Regions from separate parts of the Homo sapiens genome. Here regions 1, 3, 4 and 5 are each linked to region 2. Evidence: promoter capture Hi-C in 16 types of primary human blood cells and fetal thymus (Javierre and others, 2016). All regions are on one chromosome and are shown on one strand. The core of a region is centred on a gene start or on the middle of the fragment in contact, and the rest is flanking DNA. Distances in the headings are between cores, read along the strand shown. Region 1 overlaps LOC105370832 (a long non-coding RNA gene). Region 2 holds the start of ZNF280D (zinc finger protein 280D). Region 3 overlaps TCF12-DT (TCF12 divergent transcript). Region 4 has its middle 25 kb from the start of MNS1. Region 5 overlaps TCF12 (transcription factor 12).

Region 1 (2,700 bases), core at 93-2,592, 200 kb after region 2:
CATTTACCATGAATGGAGGCTGTGGGACTGGAGGTTGCTCTGAGTGAGTGAGTGGTGAGTGAATGTGAAGGCCTAGGACACTACTGTACACTACTGTAGACTTTATAAACATTGTACACATAGGCTACACTAAATTTTTTTCTTTCTTCAATAGTAAATTAACCTAAACTTACTGTAACTTTTTTATTTTATAAACTTTTTTTAACTATTTGATTATTTTGTAATACTTAAAATACAAACACATTGTACAGATGTACAACAATATTTCTTTATATCCTATTCTATAAGCTTTTTCCTATTTAATGTTTCACTTTCTAAGCTTTTTTGTTAAAAACAAAGACACAAACACATACGTTATCTTAGGCCTACAAAGGGTCAGGATGATCAGTTCTACTGTCTTCCACCTCCACATCTTATGGTCTTCAGGGACATTAACATTCATGGAGCCGTCATCTCCTATGATCATGTCTTTTTCTGGAATACCTCCTGAAGGACCTGCCTGAGGCTGTTTTGCAGTTCCTTTTTTTTTAATAAGTAGGAGTATACTCTAAGACAATAATTTAAAAAGTATAGCATAGTAAACACATAAATCAGTAACACAGTTGTTTATTATCAAGTATTATGTCTGCACATAATTGTATGTGTTATTCTTTTTCACCGGCCAGTGCAGTAGGTTTGTTTACACTCGCATCACCACAAACGTGTGATTAATGTGTTGCACTAAGAAGTTACCATGGCTACAACATCACTAGGCAATAGGAATTTTTCAGCTCCATTATAATCTTATGGGACCACCATCATATATGCAGTCTGGCATCGAACCAAAACATTGTTATGTGGGATATAACTGTATTCTTGACTTACTCTAAATAGTAACTCACATATGGTCTGTTATAAGAGATACAGATTTCTAATATATTCTCCATGTTCTACTGAGGTTCTAGAGGATTTTGGGGTGAAGTGAGTGTTTAATATTATTGGTATGGCTAGAGGAATATATGTCTTTTAGTGCAAGCAAAACCCTGCACTATGATAGCTAAACAAGAGCCATTTGCCTTTCAGTGTGTATAGTCTGAACCTTTTACAGTCTCTAGTGGCAATGTTGGGAGGAAGAGTAAGAGATAATACTAATAAGCTCTGATCTTGCAGATGCAGAATTCTGGGGCAGAAATGACTATAAAAGGCTTTGCCAACTGGGGATCCAGGACTGGCACTCAAATTAAAAAGGGAGAGCATCTCTTTTTCTCTTTTTTGTGTGAACCTTTTCCTCTCTACAAATAAACTGAGGCCTAAGGTACTCTTTTCCCAGTTCTACTGTGGGTGTTTAGCTTCATGAGCAAAGGCAGATGAAGGATTTGGTTTAAACCAACATCTTAAGCAGGACAGCTGGGAACTCTTCCACACCTCCTGGGAAAGCTAAATATGGTAACATTCTCCCCAGGCCCTCACGGGGACTATGTCACAAAGCAGAGCTGGGTGTATTGTATAGGCCTTCATGACAAGCATCACAGTCTAGGCTTTGCCAAAGGTGGTGAGCTGCCTCCATGCAGTGCTGGGAAACAATTGTTGGAGGCTGTTGAAGGGGAGTCAAGAATTTTGAGCATTATTCTCTTCTCCTGAGCTGAACTCCTTGTCTTATTTGACAGTTGCTGTGTGCAAAACAGGTTAACCCATTGCATTGGGTAAATGAAAATCCAAACTGAGGGTGTGTAGAAGCATTTTCCATCTGTGACTCAGGCAGGGCTTTTGCATATTAGCACAGAGCTCAACGAGTAGCAAGAGGGTTGTTTGTGCTTGGGTTATGTTTGCTGTGTTCCAAAACTAAGACAAAATCTGGCCTCAGATCCCTGAGGTCTAACTAATCCAGTAATGAGCTGAGACAGTTTGCTAGGTGTTGTTTCCACCCAATTCCCAGACTGTTCTGTTCTGGGAAGATATTTTCTAAGTTGAAAATGGGGTAAATGTAATAGGCCCTGCTCAAAAATGACAAATCTCATTGTAAAATCATCTACAAATGAGTTGAGCTGGTGATGCCTTAAAACATTCCTCTGTTTCTAAAGTTATATTCAAGAGTCTTATTGTCAAGAAAACATGATAGGTTTATCAAATACCCTGTAGAATACTGTACTCGAAGTGCCTGCTTTATCTTATGCAATTTTTCTATTTAATCTGAGCTGTATATATGCTACTGCAGCTTCAAAACATCTGGGCACAGCAATTTTTTCTATCCTGCACCTGCAAGGGTAAGTACACACATAAACAAAAAAGAAATTAAATCTTCCGCAGAGCTGGGGTAAAAAAGAACCCAACCAGCCATGAAGCTCAAGGGAGCAGTATGACAAGTGCTGAGCTGTAAACAAGCTTGAGAGGGATTTAATTCTTATGACAAGTGCCAGTGGTGGCATCTCACATGGACTCAGCATATGCACACATTTCAGAGAGGAGCCACACAGGATTTAATGCAAATAGAAAAGAAAAAAAAAAAAGAAACAGCTCTCAGTGCATCAGCTTCTTCTCATCTATAAATAGCCAAGCAAATCAGGATGAGCTAATGTTGTAATTATCTTGATTTTCAGAATTTTTGCCACTCAGAAGAGATTTTTAGAGTCTCCTCCCTGCTCTTTATAATTATAGCTGCTGTTCCAACCTCTGCCAAGGGTTGGTGGTTGCAATGTGATATTTGCCAGGTGGCTGCTCTGC
Region 2 (2,700 bases), core at 43-2,542:
AACAGGGTGTCTGTTATGGATCCTAACAGGCAAGATTTCAAGTCTTGGTCACTCACAAGCTGCACCAGTAATGCCATTGCTCTTGAGAAGACAATCAGTTTAGGAAACTTTCCTTACAGATCAGAATACAACCTTTAGCAAGTATTTACGCAAGCAGTATCTTGGCAAGTGTTCTTCTTGTAAATTTCTTATACTTCTCGTTGTCAAACTTTAAAAAATGCTATTACAGGTTAATATGCAGATGGCAGAGTTAGGAATTAGAGTGTGCAAGTTAATCATTCTAATTGGGTCACTCTTGTCATAGCCAACTAAAAGAATGGAGAAGCCAGTGCTGGGGGAAGCCCTCAGGGCACATAACATTGCTCTAAGAATGGAATTCTCAGCAAGCCTGGCTGCTGAAACCGCCTGCTGTAACCTGAAACAGGTTTTATCTTCAGGTTTTAGCTTCTCAAAGAACCTGCTGCAGCTGTAGGGCAAGCTTTACCAAGCCCCTTCCCTCACCAGTCAGAACTAACCAGCTACCCAAAACTTTACTAAATGTCAACGAACTTTCTAGAAAAACAATAGATAACTTTTTTTAAAAAATAAAACCCCCTAACTCCTCTTTGTTCTTCTGACATACTGAAGACCACCCTGTATGTGTAAATAACCTGAACTTGCAATTCCTGTGTCCCAAATAAAACGCTAAATGTACAGATTCGTCTCTTCGTATTTGACCTCGACAGGGAACGCAAGCAAAACCACACATTTAAAACAGACTTGGTAAAATCAGCTCGTTATTTAAAGAAACGGACGATTCCTTTTTCTCTCCTGGTTTAGTCTTCGACCCACAGGCCCCTTGCTTCTTTCGAACGGCGGCTGTATCCCATGACCTTTTCACTTTCCAAGCCAACGGACTGGGGGTCGTTACACACGCGGAGGGCCCGGAACGCACGGCTCCTCGCCTGCAAATTCCGAGCAGTCCGGATTTTGGGGCTGCCTCCCGGCCACACCAGCCAGCAGCTCGCACCCACATGGAGGCAGGGCCCTGGCCCTCGCCCCGGACCGGCGCGTGGCGGGGCGCGTGGGTCTTCGAGGGCCCGCGACGCGGCGCACATGCCGGTGCCCGCCTCCCGCGTCGGCGAGAAGACAGGGAGCTCGGACACGGGGAGGCTGACCCGGAGCCTACCCATGAGGCAGCGCGCCGGCTGCACGAGAGCCCCCCCCTTTCCACGGCTCGGCTGCCAGCTCCGCAATGGGAGCCGCCGCCGTCGCCGCAGTGTAGTTTTTCGTGCTCCTCCTTTTCCTCCTCCTCTTTCTCCTCCTCCTCAGGGCTCCAGTCAGGCCGATCCGCTCCGCTCACGGTAAGCGCCCCCCCGCCCCCGCCCGCCCTGCGCTGCAGCAGGCAGAGGCCCTCCCGCGCGGCCTGCGCCGCCTCACTCCGGGGGCGCTGGACTGGGGGTCTTGAGGCCGGCGCGGGTCGTCGGGAGCGCCCAGAGCGCGGGGGAGGAGACCGGCTGCGCGGCGGCGGCCGGACCGCCATCTTGCGTCGGCCCAGGCGGGGGAGGAGGTATCCCGGCGCGACGCGGCAGCCGCCTCGGCTGCTGCAGGCCTGGGCCGCGCAGGCCTTCGCCTTCTGCTCCTCCGCCACCTCCTCTCCCAGGCGTGTGCGCCTGTTTGTCCCCAGCCTGGTTTTGGCTTTTCTCTCTGGAGGCAACTCCCTTTGGTACATTTTGTGCCGATGTTTGGCCAAGACCCATGGTCCTCACACCACAGCCCACCCCCGTGTCTCTTCAGTCGTAGGAAAGGAGACCAAAGGGGATTCGGGATTTGCAGGCACAGGGCCCCTCATTTTGCCCAGATGACCGGTCGTTCCACGTTTGCACCCTCATTTTTGTCAAAGAGACCTCCCCTCCTCTGCCATAGAATTCCCGTTATTGTCTACAGAAGAAGGGCCCTGAGGAGAAACGTGGAGTTGGAGACAAAATTTTCTGAGCTTTGCAAGGTTCACTTACTGAGACGGAAAGAATGATCTCACTCTGAGGTTTTAGCCTGCTCCAGCGATGGAAGGAATTCCTCCCAACTTATCGCAAGTTTTAACGCTTTTAAGGAGAAATCTGCTGGAGAGGAAAAACGTCAAGGTGAACCCGCTTCTGCAAGCACGGGAGACCTTTGGCCAAAGGCCTTTGTTTGCGAAGATTTGTTAAAAAAAAAAAAATCTGTCATCTTAAATATTTGGCTTTATTTTCAGGTTTGGACAGAATTTGTCTTTTTTAGTGCCATGAAACATAAAATGGAACGCTAGAAGGACAGTTTTAAAGCACAAAAGCTGCCTCTTAGCATCTGTAAGGTGTCCTGCTTTGGGGGACTGCTGTGCCAACTCCAGCTGTCTCCACGCAGAAACTTAACCAGGGAAGGCACTGGTTTGCTTATACCATTGTTAGGGCTGTGTGCCTCTGATGTTTTAACATCACTACAAATACTGTTGTAATTGTGTCTTGCTTTTGTGCCTTTCATTGATAACCCCTGATTTGTATCTCTTAGCCCCTTTTGAAGTGGTCTGGGTTGCTGGAATCATTTTGCAGGCGAGGAAACAGAGCCTCAGGGAGAGGACTTTAATGAGGTCACTGACTAGGAAGAGCCAAGGCCAATTATATTAATAGAACCTTAGGTCTTCTGACTCCTTCTCCGGTGCTCAACTCTAGTATATACCATTTTTGT
Region 3 (2,700 bases), core at 121-2,620, 160 kb before region 2:
TCTTACTAACATTCACCCTTCTTCTGGTAACCATCCCCTGATTTTCCTCTTCTGTTACTTCAGTCAATGTCTTTTGGGTGGAGTGAACTTCATTTTCAAAAACATTAATGACATGAATCAGACCTGAGCTACTGGATTCCTCTAGCCACATATCCCAATCAGAGCCAGTGAAATGTAAGAAGACTATTGCTGGCACCTGTGGGAAGGAAGCATGCACTCTTCCACTGAGATTGCTAACAGTAAGGATTATGTAAACTGGAGCTGTCAGCAGCCACCACATGGAGCCTAAAAATGAAGCCAGCACACAAGACAGAGTCAAGAGATGAAAAGAAATAGAATTCTAATGACATTGCTTAAGCCCTTGGATCAAACTATGCCTTAAGCTAAATATATAACTAGTTTTTCACTAAAATAGCTCTAACAATTCATAAATTGATACCAGGAATGGGGATTAGTAACAGAAAGATCCAGAAATGTTGAAGTAGCTGATTCAGATGAGGCCTCATTGGTATCAGGCTGGGACTTCGATACCAAAGCAGTAGGTTAAACTGGCACCTGTTGTATAGTGGGATTCAGAACATGTGCCTATCAAGGATAAAATGTAAAAGGGCCTGTTGTTAAAAGGTCGGATACTAAAATATATCAACTATTACTTGTTAGTTTTTAGTAATGTCCTTTAAGAAAGGCTCAAACTTAGGACTAAGATTGATTTATCTAAGGCAGAGAGGAAAAGATACCACTTTGTTACAAGTGAACATTTTTGCTTATAGGCTGCAATAAAAGATGACAGAAACATCAATAATCTGGAGCCATAAAGGGTTGAAAAAGCCCCAAGAGGATGTTAATGTTAATGAAGGCAAGAATGGATAACATTGGCACTAGGGAGAAGTCTTAATACACTCAGGCCTCTTTCAAGCAATTCCTGCCTGCTGAGAAAGGTAATAGTTATTCCACTCTACTCCCTCCACCACCAGCTCACACACCATCATCACTCCCTCCCCTTGCAAACCCAGTGGCTATTGTTTCAAATTGTTATCAGGCAGAAACCAAAATAGAGGCCTCTAAGTTAGAATACCAAGGCCTATTACTAAAAGACAAAAATGCTCAGATGAAAATCTAGATTCAAAGACTGAAGCTTAAAAAAAACCCTCTGGCTTTGGAATTCTCCCCCTATGGAATTGGCCAGATGCAAATAGACTAGAAGTTTACTAAGAATTAAAGAAAACTGGGCGAGGCACAGTGGCTCATGCCTCTAATCCTAGCACTTTGGGAGGCCGAGGCAGGCGGATCACCCGAGGTCAGGAGTTCAAGACCAGCCTGGCCAACATGGTGAAACCCTGTCTCTACTAAAAATGCAAAAATTAGCCAGGTGTGGTGGCACACACCTGAAATCCCAGCTACTCAGGAGGCTGAGGTGGGAGAATTGCTTGAACCCGAGAGGTGGACATTGCATGAACTGAGATAGCACCACTGCACTCCAGCCTGGGCAACAAGAACAAGACTTTGTCTCAAAAAAAAAAAAAAAAAAAAAAAAGAATTAAAGAAAATTGTACTGTGAGAGAAATCCTAAGTGTGGAGAAGAAAGGCTAGGTTACTTAAGCTTAACACAATAGATATTTATTTTTCACTTTTGTAAAGTCTAACATCAGTGCCCCTAAGTAGCAGGTGGTCTTCTACAAAATCATTCAACTACCCAGACTCCTTCTATCTTATGGCTCTAATGTCCTCCAGGTTCTTAGAGACCTTTCAGTGCAGCCAGAAGAGGGAAAAAGAGACTGGCAAAGGCATACCTACTACTTAACCAAATTGGCTAGAAGTGGTACACATCACTTTCACTCATATTCCAATGGAGACAGTCATGTGACTTTACCAAAGTTAACAAGGAGGCTGGGAAATGTAGCCCCTGGCTAGGTAGCTACTTCCCAGCAACAATTGTATACAACAGAAGAGGTTCACAACTCTTGGGTGGTAAAAGCTAATTATCTTTGCCATAGGAAGTGATTTTTCAATTCCCACTAGATCAGGAAGGAGAATGCTGAAGAGGTGTAGTCCCTAAAGGATTATCCTCCCATTGTCCATTACAGACATAGCCATGGAGGAACAATGAATGAGAGGTCCTCCAGAAATAGAACATATGGCAGCCAGATTGGTTGATCAAAGAACTTTCTCCCCTCTCATGTTAGGAAGCCCTTGCTATTCCTGTCTAGCAAGATATGACATATGCTATGAATTAGAGACATTTTGTGTTTGTCATTATTCATATTTCCAAATATGCATTTTCATTGCAGTTGTTCTTTTTTTCTGTCATTATATATTAAGTATTTTCTAGTTAATTTTATCATACAGCCTTAGGTTACTAGGCCATGAAGAACTTTATCAAATTGCTTTATGATATAGAGGCATGCATATCACCTTACTATCCTGGACTTGGAGTTATTTGTAGGACCTAGATGTGAGTACATTTTGGGTGGTAAAAAAACATTGTTACATTGAGTAGCCATAGATATCATTGAAGGCATATGTAGGGGAAGAATGTTTGGAGACCTCAATAAAATACCAGGGATGTGTTTGTGTCTGCTGTTTCCATTACCCAGGGCACATCTGTGCTTCTTCTGATAACCATACCCCTATTTTAAGTAAAAATCATCTGTGCCATTCATATGTTACTGATAGACACAACTCCTGGGATGGGCTTGTGAA
Region 4 (2,700 bases), core at 59-2,558, 240 kb after region 2:
GAGAACCTCAAGCTCTGAAAACTGGTGGGTCCAGGACAGCCCAGCTCCCGGCCAGTCTGATTAGGTGGGAGGGGAATAGAACAGGATCCCACCTGGTCCTTCTCTACCTCCATCCCCAGAAACCCCATCAGGGGTTGTTAAATATCTCAGATTAGCTCACCAATAAGTCTCAGGATATATTCACTGGCGAAAATGGCATGAAATGCACAGACATTAAGTTCTTAATATTTATCTTCTCCAAAGGGGTTTAACATTACTAAAAACTGAAAATAAACTCAACATAGCTTGCATTTTAGAAATGGTCCTGTAGATGTGTGATAAAGATGATCCTTTTCAATCTGCTAAGCAAATGTTTTAGAATCTGTGAACCCAAGGCTAATTCAGCCAGAAAGCGTGTTCTGCAGATTGCAAGCCTTGGCTCCCTCTAGTGGCCCTGACTGAGCCTTCGTTCCCGGCTTAAAATGCCCAGGACTTAAGAACTGTATGGGGATTTCAAAGCTCAGCTCAGCTAGCACCTCTTCCTTTTAATGCTCTGGTGACTCTTGACTACATGTATGTCCTCCCAGTATGAGCAACTTTGTTATTTTCTGTTGCTAACAACTAGCATTTTTTATATTCAGTTTATAAGTGAATTGTTTCTTGTGTATTTTCTTTCCCCCCAAAAAGTCACAATTGTGTCTTCGAAATGGGAAACACAGTATCAGGCATACAATACTAGCTAATACTTTAAATTTAGGAATTATAATATTAGAGTTAGTAGAAATGTTTGTATGTTAAGAAAGCTTCTCCTTTCACAAAATAAGAAACAGATCCGAGAATCACTGCTCTGTTCATTCCACGAGTGTCTGTCAAGTGAAACTTCCAAGTCACTATGCTGGGTACCATGGAGGAGACGGAGACATTCAGGAGATAAGCCCAAATCTCATGGACCTTTCAATGAGGCATGAAAAAAAGGACAGGTGCACCAATCATCAAAGATAGAAACCCCTAAGGAAGGTAAAAGTAAAGCCTGAGGGATCTCAGGTGAGGGAGGTAATGAGTCAGCTGAGGGACTCAGCATGGTGTTATGGAGAAGGTGGACCTTGACCTTGGCTTTGAAGGATGTGTAATATTTGATTATGTGGAATAAGGGGAAAGTGTGGTGGTGTGAAAGCACATCCAGGGAGGGTACTGTAAAGGGAGAATATCAGAAACTAAGACATGAGTGCCTTAGGGTCAAACTACAGAAGGTCTTTTTATTTTATTTTTATTTAAGAGAAGATCTCACTCTGTTGCCCAGGCTGGAGTGCAGTGGTGTGATCATGGCTCACTGCAGCCTCAAACTCCCTGGGCTCAGGTGACCCTTCCACCTCAGCCTCCTGAGTAGCTGGGACTACAGGTGCACACCACCATGACAGGCTAATTTTTGTATTTGTTGCAGAGATGAAGTGTCACCATGTTGCCCAGGCTGTTCTCAAACTCCTGGGCTCAAGCAATTCTCCCGCCTCAGCTTCTCATTTACTTTAGTTTCTTAAGAGACAGGGTCTTGCTGTGTCACCCAGGCTGGAGTGCAGTACCATGATCGTGGGTCACTGGAGTCTTGACTCCTGGGCTCAAGCAATCCTCCAACCTCAGCCTCCCGAGTAGCTGGGACCACAGGAGCATGCCACAATGCCCAGCTAGTTTTTATTTTATTTTATTGTAGAGACAAGGTCTCACTGTGTTGTCCAGGCAGGTCTCAAACTCTTGGGCTCAAGCGATCCTCCCACCTTGGCCTCTCAAAGTACTGAGATTATGGGTGTGAACCACCATGCCTGGCCTACAGAAGGTCTTGAATGGCAATGAAGAAGCTTGTATTCTGTTGAGCAGGAAGCGGGACTGGAGGAAGAAATTGTAAAAATTCCAGCTTCTTGAATATGTATTTGGCTCCTTTTAAAAAAATGGATTCTCCATCCAGCTGTCCATTTATCATTTATAGAGAGATTAATATAGGAGATTCTGGTGGGGACTAGATATCTGCTAAGTTTACTTCTTAATCGATATTACATGATTGGGATTTTTGAGCCATAAATTGACCCTACATTATAGGAGGGAAGACCTTGCATTTTTTTTGTACTTAGTAGGTGCTCAATGAAGGCTTCCTCAATTAACAGATTACATGAACAGGGTTGTGTTTCAGAAAGAGGAATTTGGCAGCAAGGTTTAAACTAGATTGGCAAGAAGGGAGAGACTGGATACAGGAAGGCTGCTTAGGACATTATTACTCATTTTCAAGGCCTAAACTAGGTGAGTGGAAATAAGAGTTGAACGAAGAGTAACATTGGGGAAGTAGAATCAAGATTGCTATTTTGTTGTGATTATTTGTGACCCTCTTCCTCAATGAATTGACAGTTTCATGAGAGCAAGAACTCTAACTTATTTGGCATTGTATCCCCACTACCTAACAATAACTAGCACATGTATGTGCTGAGTATGTATTCAATGAGCTGTGGAATAAATGTTGACTGGCTTTTGGAATAAGTAATTGAGATAGTGTTATTTGAGGGGCATTGGCCATCCAAGCCCCGGGACAAGGAGCAGCCAGAGATGCTGGATGTGAGCCTAGCATTTGAGTGACCCTGGCCCAGGGCAGAAGGGACACAGCACACAGCAGCAATCTCTGCCTTCTCACTATCCACTCCCTTTAGCCTGTGCTGGGCAGGCCTTCACCCCTACATCCTA
Region 5 (2,700 bases), core at 113-2,612, 210 kb before region 2:
GCAAACCTCACAATCAAATTAGTGAAAACTAGAAAATCTAAAAGCTACTATAGGAAAAATATTATATAGAAAAGAATAAAGATCATTATTGCAGACTTGAAAAATAATGAAAGCCAAAATACAATGGAAAGACACTATTTCATCATCAAAAGGAAAAAAAAAGGTCAATCTAGAATTCTATATCTAGCAAAAATATCCTTCAAAAGCAAAGGCAAAATTAAAACCTCTCAGATAAGCAAAAATAAAGAGAATTTATTACCTGCAGTCCTGCACTATAAAAAATGTAAAGAAAATTCTTCGGGCAGAAGGAAAATGAGACAAGATGAATACCTGAATATACACAAAGAAATGAAGAACACTGGAAATTGAAAATACATGGATTAATATAAACTCTCTCTTAAGACGGATTAAGAAAAAAGCAAAAAGACACAATTTCCAGTATCAGGCAGAAAAGAAGAAACATGACTACATATCTTAAACACAATAAAACAATAATGGAATATTGTGAATAATTTCATACCAATAAGTCAATATAAAAATCAATCACTATTTTTATATACCAGCAACAAACAATTGGAAAAGTTTTAATGCCACATATAATAGAACCAAAGAACGTAAAAACTCTTAGGGATAAATTTAACAAAATGAGTGTAAGACCTATAAATTGAAAGTGCAAAATATTACCAAGGAAAATTTACAGAAGACCTAAATAGATAAGAGATATGTTCATGTATTGCAAGACTCAGTATTGTTAAGATATCAATATTCCCCAAATCCCAGCAGGCTTAATAGAAATCGACAAGGTAATTACAATTTATATGGAAATAGAATCTCTTAATATATCAAATGGAAGAATTAACCCCTTCCTCCAAACACTTATACTTACCATTTTTTACACAGTCTGTATCATATTTCTCTATTTCTCATACTATTTTGCAGTTAATGTTACTCAGTGTTTGTTTAATGTAGTGTGACTTGCTGACTTCACTGTCCCCATGGTAAGAAGGTTCACAGAACAATCAATATTCTACGAAAATATCTAGTGCACTAAAAATTACAATGCCAGGAATACTGCCAGCCAATCTTTCTACTCTGGCTCCTGGCAAGTAGAACTCTTAAAGAAGGGAAAGTAATTTTTTACTAATTTTATACAGGTTTATCAAAATGCAAAAAATATGTATATACAAAATAAAGGCCACTAAGTGACTTATTTTTTAATTCCCTTGTCTTAGCAGCTTGGTAATCTAGGCTCAACGTTTAAAGCAATTACAAGACAACATATCTAACCCACAATTATTTATTTAGATAAGTATTATCTTGCTCTCGGCTGAAAATAAAACTGACAACCCATTTCCAGAGCCTTCAGAGTCTCAATCACTTAATTCTGTTCCAACCTATACATTTTACAAAGTGGTTTTACAAAGTATTTTCACAGTATTTGCTTCTGCAAGAGACAAGATAAAGTTTTCAGTTTAATTCACTGTCTGTTATAATATGGCCCTATGGAAATAATAAAATCCATTTAACACAATATAATACATAGCTCAACAAATGAAAACTTCTGTTTTGAACACATTAAATAAAATTTCAAGTTTTTCATGTTTGTTTCCATTAGGTAATGGTTCATTATCTTCAGAAAGAAAACAAGTGGAAAATGAAGACCTCATATTCATAAATTTGAAATAAAAGACACACACTTCAATGGTTCTAAACTGCAGCCAGACTGGCTGCCTAAAAATTAAGTAGGTAGCTTGTTAAAAATTACGATTCCTAGGTTCAACACCAGCTTCATGCCGCTGGAATGCCTGGGGTTGGGGATCCAGGAATAATTTTTTAAAAGCTCCCCAGGTGACACTAATACAATGTTGGGTATGGATTAAGCAAGAATCAGTTCCCTTTCTAGAACCAATCCCACCATCAAATACATTGTAATAATGACTTTACCAAATTTTTATATTAAATAAGTGAGATATTTGGTAACAGGATATTAAACCACTGTCCATGAGACTCGCTTTTAAACAATTTGAACTAGCTATTGCTGCATTATTTCATGGATCAGCTTTGAAACCTAATTCTGCTACTTACTAGCTTTGTTACTCAACCTCCTGAAGCCTGTTTCCTTTTCTGCAAGAATGAGAGTAAAACTGAATCAGCTTCAAAGAGTTATTATGAAGAGTATGTTAAATAATTCATATAAAAGTGTGCCCTGTACAAGGGCCTATACATAAGGAACTAACATTTTATTGAAGGCTTTTTATTACAGTAGGACTTGTCTGTTTTCTAAACAAGGAGAATAATTATATAAGTTGGTAAAACTGAAATCTTATGATTGTCAAGAAATGCTAATGCTCTTCTTTTTTTTAGCTTAAGTCATATGCATGTAGAATCATGTATAATTAGGTCAAATCATTACACATATTTTAGAAAATCACAGATCCTACTAAAATCAGTATGGGCTCAATAATGTCCTTCACATAGTGATCCCCTATTATCCTCTTGTTAAATGAAAAGGTGAAGTTGCAGAACTATTTGTTCCCTATTGTGTAAAAAATAAGAGGCTATGCATCATTTACATATAGACGAAAAGCTCTCAGGAGAAACTGAACAGAGGAAAACCTCTGCCAAGGAGTGGGAATAAGGTATAGGAAGGAATGACTGTGTTTCTCACCAAATATCCTTCCATACTGTTTAAATTTTTTA

The links. The method cuts DNA at HindIII sites, captures the fragments that hold promoters and counts their contacts. A CHiCAGO score of 5 or more calls a contact.
Region 1: a contact is called between a fragment that was not itself captured here and the fragment with the promoter of ZNF280D in region 2, in 1 of 17 cell types (fetal thymus). The highest score is 14.9, in fetal thymus.
Region 3: a contact is called between a fragment that was not itself captured here and the fragment with the promoter of ZNF280D in region 2, in 1 of 17 cell types (fetal thymus). The highest score is 6.1, in fetal thymus.
Region 4: a fragment that was not itself captured here is called in contact with the fragment with the promoter of ZNF280D in region 2 in 1 of 17 cell types (fetal thymus); the score reaches 16.8 in fetal thymus.
Region 5: a contact is called between a fragment that was not itself captured here and the fragment with the promoter of ZNF280D in region 2, in 1 of 17 cell types (fetal thymus). The highest score is 5.2, in fetal thymus.

The regions. Positions count from the first base shown.
Region 1 is chr15:56,532,959-56,535,658 of GRCh38, reverse strand. All of the region lies in intron 1 of LOC105370832 (a long non-coding RNA gene), which reads left to right. Among named protein-coding and RNA genes, the nearest start is that of MNS1, 69 kb to the right of the region's middle. The HindIII fragment of the contact is 2,042 bases long and covers 322-2,363 here.
Region 2 is chr15:56,732,101-56,734,800 of GRCh38, reverse strand. It overlaps ZNF280D (zinc finger protein 280D), which reads left to right and starts at 1,292. Exons shown (of 22, transcript NM_017661.4): 1 at 1,292-1,343. RefSeq lists a silencer at 1,273-1,542. The HindIII fragment of the contact is 3,680 bases long and covers 481-2,700 here.
Region 3 is chr15:56,890,371-56,893,070 of GRCh38, reverse strand. All of the region lies in intron 2 of TCF12-DT (TCF12 divergent transcript), which reads left to right. Among named protein-coding and RNA genes, the nearest start is that of LINC03065, 4.7 kb to the right of the region's middle. RefSeq lists an enhancer at 661-1,220. The HindIII fragment of the contact is 465 bases long and covers 1,138-1,602 here.
Region 4 is chr15:56,489,045-56,491,744 of GRCh38, reverse strand. It overlaps a transcript of LOC105370832 not described here. Among named protein-coding and RNA genes, the nearest start is that of MNS1, 25 kb to the right of the region's middle. RefSeq lists an enhancer at 260-554. The HindIII fragment of the contact is 1,047 bases long and covers 785-1,831 here.
Region 5 is chr15:56,942,999-56,945,698 of GRCh38, reverse strand. All of the region lies in intron 3 of TCF12 (transcription factor 12), which reads right to left. Among named protein-coding and RNA genes, the nearest start is that of TCF12, 26 kb to the right of the region's middle. The HindIII fragment of the contact is 4,869 bases long and covers 1-2,700 here.